2 separate regions of the Homo sapiens genome follow, and region 1 is linked to region 2. Evidence: promoter capture Hi-C in 16 types of primary human blood cells and fetal thymus (Javierre and others, 2016). All regions are on one chromosome and are shown on one strand. The core of a region is centred on a gene start or on the middle of the fragment in contact, and the rest is flanking DNA. Distances in the headings are between cores, read along the strand shown.

Region 1 (3,092 bases), core at 330-2,829, 260 kb before region 2:
GCTGAATATTTCTGTCCTCCCAAAATTCATAGGTTGAAGCCCAAACCCCCAATAAGATGGTATTTGGAAGTAGTGCCTGTGGGAAGTAATGAGGCCATGAGGGTCATGAGGTCATGAGGGTCGAGCGCCCCTGATGAGACTCATGCCCTTACCAGAAGAGTAGACCAGCTAAGAAGCATCTCTAGGGGGTCTATAAAGTGGTACTATTACACTCTTTATTTGCAGAAGAGGGAACTAGGGTGGAGAGAGGAGATTACCAAGATTACTATGGAGTCTGTAAATGGAAGTGAGAATTCAAATGTCACCAAAGCTAATATCCTTAACACTATGCTGATCTATTTTCCCATTCACATTCTTTTAATCAACTTAATTTCATGTTGCCTATTTTTTCTCTTTTAAGGAAAATTACTTGACTATTCTGAAGAAGCCACAATAATAACACACACCCCCAAAAAACAGTAAAAACTGATGACAAGGATGAAGCATTGTTACCTGTTACCTGTTGCCTATTGGTCAAGCCAATATGTTGCTAAAGGAAAAGAAAGAAGTGGTGATTGCATTGTACATCGAGCCTAAAGCTACGTCTCAGATTATTTCCTGCTATTCAGGCTGTTGCTTCCATATACAGCATAGTCCATAGATTCACCAAGGCTAGCCTCAGGCCTCTGGTGAGACTTCCTCCAAGAACCTACACCCCAGAAAAAAATTTTGGATAACATATAACCACCAAGATATATCCACTGAGACTACAAAGAAATTTAAAATATTAATAGGAGCAAAACTTTAAACCAAAGGAAAGACATCCTAAGGCAGCATTTCAAGAATCAGCCTTGGGAAGATTGAAGAGGGCCAGAAAGTCCTCTCTGAGGACATTTTAGATTTTCCAGAGAAATGAGAAGCACACAGAGCTAGAAATAAAGAGAAAACCACAGAGATCTCTTCTTTTAGAGAATTGAGAGAGCAGAGAGACAGAGAACGCATGAGATAGAAAATCTCATATGGGTCTAGGTTTTGGAAAATTCTGTTCATTATGCTGTGGTGAAGTGTTCTGCGAAATTTGTTATTTGTTTTGTTTTCAGCTGTTATTCATGTAAGTTGTGGTTCAAGTTAGTATCTCTTCTGATCTGTGCCCTTTGACGTGTTAATTAATTGATGAAACTTTTGTTCTCAAACTTTTTACTATTTCAATCCAAAACCTTCAGATTTGTCTGAAAATTCACCATGGGCCACTAGACTGAGAATTTCTCTACCCTGTAATAGCCTCAGTACAGAAGCTTAGAGGAAACCAAGCTGAGCACTGAAATCAGTTGGCAGTGCCCTGCTCCCTCTGTGACTGTATTCACTTAAAGTTGTCCAGATTATGTTCTCAGGATCAATGACCATTTTATCTGTGTCCCTAGCACCTGGCTTAGCATATATTATCAATCCAAAACATGTTCTCTGAATGAATGAACAAAAGCAAGAATGAATGAGCAAACCACCATATTCCAGCAGAGCACCATGATGGTTTCGAGCTTGTGTTCGTCTCCAGGCTTTGCCCTCATGAGTTGGGTGACATTAACTAAGTTATTCAAGATATGCCTTCTCATTAACTTATGCCACAGATATTACTGCTGGGCTCTGAGTATGCATGGGGTGAGCAAAACAAGTCCGTTGGCCTTGTGGAGTCTAGAGTCCAGCTACACAAACACACACTGACAAAACATGAAGTGCTCTGATGGTAGCGGGCTGAGGGGCAAGAGTGCAGGTATTATGCAACTTATTCAGGTAGAATGATCAAGAAGTACATAGGTGAGGAGGTGACCTTTAGGCTGACAAAAAGAGAGACAGCCAGCCTTGAGAAGATATGAAACAAAAGCATTCTGAAAAGAAAGAAAAGCTTTTATTAAGTCCTTGGGTTTTCAACCAAACAATTGAAAAAAAGAACAAGAAAACAAAGTCATCGGGCAAGAGAGAGCTTGCATAGGCCCAAATTATTTTGAATGAGCAGAGTTTGGTGAAATCAGAGGAGAGACTTAAGACCAGGTGGAGTGGCTCAGAGCCTTTGTAATCCCAAGACTTTGGGAGGATCACTTGAGCCCAGGAGTTGGGAACCAGCCTGGGAATAAGACCTTATCTCTACAAAATAATAATAATAATAATAATAATAATAATAATTAAAAATTAGCCAGGCATGATGACACGTGCCTATAGTCCTAGGTACTCTGGAGGCTGAGATGGGAGGATCGCTTGAGCCTGGGAGGCACAGGTTGCAGTGAGCCCAGATCACGCCACCACAGTCCAGCCTGGGTGACAGAGCAAGACCCTGTCTCTAAATAAATAAATAAATAAATAAATAAATAAATAAATAAAGATGGGTGATGTGAGACACAAGAGGTGAACAAGGATCAGACCTTGGACAACCTTGTATGCCAAGGTAAGTATTTTGACTATATCTTGGCAATGGAAAGTTTTAAGTAAATGAGGGAAATGAGCAACCCAGAGTGTCTTATTTAGCTGACCAGGAGCAGGGGCAGACATGGGTATTTTATCAGAATCTTCTCAGTGATTCTAGCACACAGCCAAGGTTGAGATCAACAGTCTGTATATTCCTGCAGGAGCAAACCCACTTTACTTACATCCTTCACCTGCTCTGATCCTCCCAGTGGTGGCTCCTTTAAACAGAATAAGGTGTAAATATATTAGCTTAGTAATCAAGTTCCTCCGTGTCTGCCTTAGCCTAACTTTCCTATCTTATGTCCACTCAACCTCCTGGACAAACTTTATAATGTAGATTAAGGATGTGAGTTCTGAAGTCAGAGCCAGACATGTTACTTTATCCACATTGTAGCATGGTAGTTATAGTTACCTCTTATCGTGTTTAGGAGATTTAATTTTATAATATCTGGAAGGCTCTTCACCTATTACTTAGTAAGCACTTCCTAAAAGTTTGCTCTTGTATTATTCCCTGACACCCAAATAGAATTTTCCTAATTCTGCCCTTTTTCTGATGTTAAACCATATGAACACTTTTCTATTCCCATCTACCTAAACAGAACCCACCCCTCCTTCAAGTTCCTGCTCAATACTATCCCAGGGAGAACTTATCTTTG
Region 2 (2,880 bases), core at 170-2,669:
ATAAGGAAGTTGTACTCAGAGAAATTAGGTAAATTGCCTTAGGTCACAAAGTTCTGAAGAGAGTTGGGATTCGCAGCCATGCCTGTCTGATGTAAATGTCAGGGTTCTAGTTGACACTGCTTCTAGTTGTAGGGAATGTTTCCCATTTAATAGAGCAACTACAATGGTTGATTCCCTTCAATAATAACTTCTTATCAGGCAACCACTGTCACATTCAGGATTTCATTCCACCGAATTCCTATGCATTCAAATGTAAAAGAGGCTAGTGAAGAAGTAGGTCACATGAACCAATCTTTCCACCACCAACGAAAGCACTGCCCAGACTCCTGGGATGCCCTACTCTGGTATTTTCGTATCATTTTACCCAAGAATTGAAAAAAATGTCTGCTCAGATCCTTTGAATTCAACACCTTACCCACCACTTTCTTTCACTTCAAGCAAGGTCTGATTTGCACTAACTAGTAGGAGGTCACCATCTCTTAAGTGATTCCTCCCAGACTATTTTAGCTCTCAGGGACAGCCAGGGCCCTCAACGATTCCCTAAGCATCTCTGGGAAAGTTTACACATTACGCTGTTACAAGCAATTCATGTATGTGTGCATAGTGAAAACCTTTTCTCTTAAAACTCTTAATACTGAAGTTCCCCAAACCTTTGGAAAATGTACAAGTCACAGATGCTCCTGTGACTTGTTTTTCCCTTCGGGTGCGTCCTCAACCTTGCTTAAATAAACCTCTATTGAACGAGACCTGCATCAGTCACTTTTCGGTTAACACTAGGTATTCAACGAATAGACTAGTCCCGCCGTTGTCTCCAGATATGATGGTGCCCTGACCCAAAGAAGCGAGATACTCCTTCCCAGGGCCTCGCTCCCGAGCATGGGTTATTTGCACAAAACCCCGCAGGAAGCTTTTAGAGCCACAGTCGGCTAGGCTGGAGTCAGACTCTGTTACCTCCTGACTCTGCCATCACGAGCAAGGAGCCTGCTTCCTCATTGGCAAAAGGGAATGACCAAGGCACCACCTTACAGGGTTGTGGCAACGGGCTCATGGAATTATACATGCCAAGTGGTTATCACAGGGCCCGCCACTGGCGGAAGGTGAGACAATGTGGACGGCGAGGAAATGGGAGCATCGGCTGGAAACCAGGGACGGAGATCGGGGATGGGGGGCGGGCAAGGGGACAGCGGAAAGGGTGGGCGAGGGATCCGTGTCCCAACCCGCCGAGTCGCAGCTCTGCCCCTGCGAGCTTCCGCCGAGACCGCCCCCCGGGAAGCCGCGTTTCCTTCCTGCAGTCGCGGTCCGGCGTGGGGCACGGAGGGGCTCGCGCTCCCAGAAGCCGGCAGGCCTTCCCGCGGGCGGGCCCGCAGCGCGCTCCGCCCCGGAAACACGCCCATGGCCGCCTTGGCGCGCTTTCAAACGCTCAGGTTTCCTACCTTCCGGCTGCTTGGGAACTTCTTTCTTGCCCGCCAAGCCCGCAGCCACCCGGGCGCGGCGGGACTCCTAGACCCGGCGCTGCGATGAAGAGGACCCGCGACGAGGTGGATGCGACGCTGCAGATCGCCAAGCTGAATGCGGCCGAGCTGCTGCCGGCGGTGCACTGCCTGGGCTTCGGCCCTGGGGCCAGCGGCGCTGCAGCCGGCGACTTCTGCCTGCTGGAGCTGGAGCCCACGCTGTGCCAGCAGCTGGAGGATGGACACAGGTGAGCCCTGGTCACGCGGCGCCCCCAGCCTCTGGCCGGCCACGTTATTTTCTCAGCGGGGAAAGTCGGGATAAGAAAACAGGGCCAGAGAGATGCACTGACCTGGCCGGGGGCTCATAGCAAGCTGCCTGTTCCCGAGGAGTCCACGCCTCCGGTGGGCCGTCCAGTTAGCTGCACTGCGGTGATGAGTAGCACTGGTCCAGCTGACCTTGGAGGCATGTGTCAGCGGGAGCAAGTCAGGAAATACTAATACAACCTCCGTGAAGTTTTTGAAGAGTTACCGGTGATTACAGGGACTCTACAGGACACCTGTCACTCTACCTTAAAATACAGTGGTGATACCCAATGTTTATAGAACTCTTGCCTTCCACTTATATTTATTTTACTCAGATGATAGATAGGAAGTGCTGGGAATCAGCTTACAGACTTGGTAATTGGGTGAGACCCCTACCCACCCCGAAGCAAACTTGCTTAGTAGGGATCTGAAGCTGTTTCTAATTCCAGGTCAGATACAAACTTGCTGCAAGATCATTGATTAGAAGTCGAAGTTGAGGTAGTTTTTTAAAGGCAGTCTTGAGAAGTCTAGAGAATCGTTATATCCCTCCACCCTGTGCAGCCCCAGCTCCTGCAAAATAGGGAGCTCCAGCTTGATTCTCTTTTGCACAATTGGTCCTCCGACACCTATATTTTATTAGGCTATTTTTTCTCTTTTTTCTTAATGGAATCCTTTAGGCTGTCTTTCAGTTTTCGTACTTTGCCCACCAAAGAGTGTTAGAGTAAACTGGCCATTCTTCAGATACCTGCTATATACCTCAAAGTACCTTTAAGGGAACTGAAAGAACTTCACTAGTCTGTTTCCATCCCGGTTCAGTTGGTGGAGAGTTGAGAAAGGAACTCAGGTGTGAGGACTTTCTCTCGGTCCAGTTCTAGTTAATCTAGCTGGCAAAAACAAAACAAAACAAAAACAAAAAAATAAAAACAGGCCCTGGAAACGTGTGTTTTTAATTTTGGGGTGTAGGGAGTGATGGTATAAACAAAATATTTCAAAGTGGGGGTAGTGCAGTTAGAGAAATAAATGTTAAAGACTAGGTACTTGGGCCTATTAAGCATTATTAGCATTAGGAATCTAAAAAACCTTTTATTCTTTTTACTTAAATGAAGACTTAGTCAAAAATAAATAC

What was found. The method cuts DNA at HindIII sites, captures the fragments that hold promoters and counts their contacts. A CHiCAGO score of 5 or more calls a contact.
Region 1: a contact is called between a fragment that was not itself captured here and the fragment with the promoter of DSCC1 in region 2, in 1 of 17 cell types (monocytes). The highest score is 5.0, in monocytes.

What each region holds. Positions count from the first base shown.
Region 1 is chr8:120,112,321-120,115,412 of GRCh38, reverse strand. No RefSeq gene overlaps it. Among named protein-coding and RNA genes, the nearest start is that of COL14A1, 11 kb to the left of the region's middle. The HindIII fragment of the contact is 605 bases long and covers 1,277-1,881 here.
Region 2 is chr8:119,854,433-119,857,312 of GRCh38, reverse strand. It overlaps DSCC1 (DNA replication and sister chromatid cohesion 1), which reads left to right and starts at 1,419. Exons shown (of 9, transcript NM_024094.3): 1 at 1,419-1,699. The coding sequence starts at 1,518. LOC105375728 (a long non-coding RNA gene) reads right to left here. Exons shown (of 4, transcript XR_928590.3): 2 at 2,511-2,638; 3 at 1,434-1,907. RefSeq lists a silencer at 1,268-1,327 and an enhancer at 1,438-1,747. The HindIII fragment of the contact is 2,867 bases long and covers 910-2,880 here.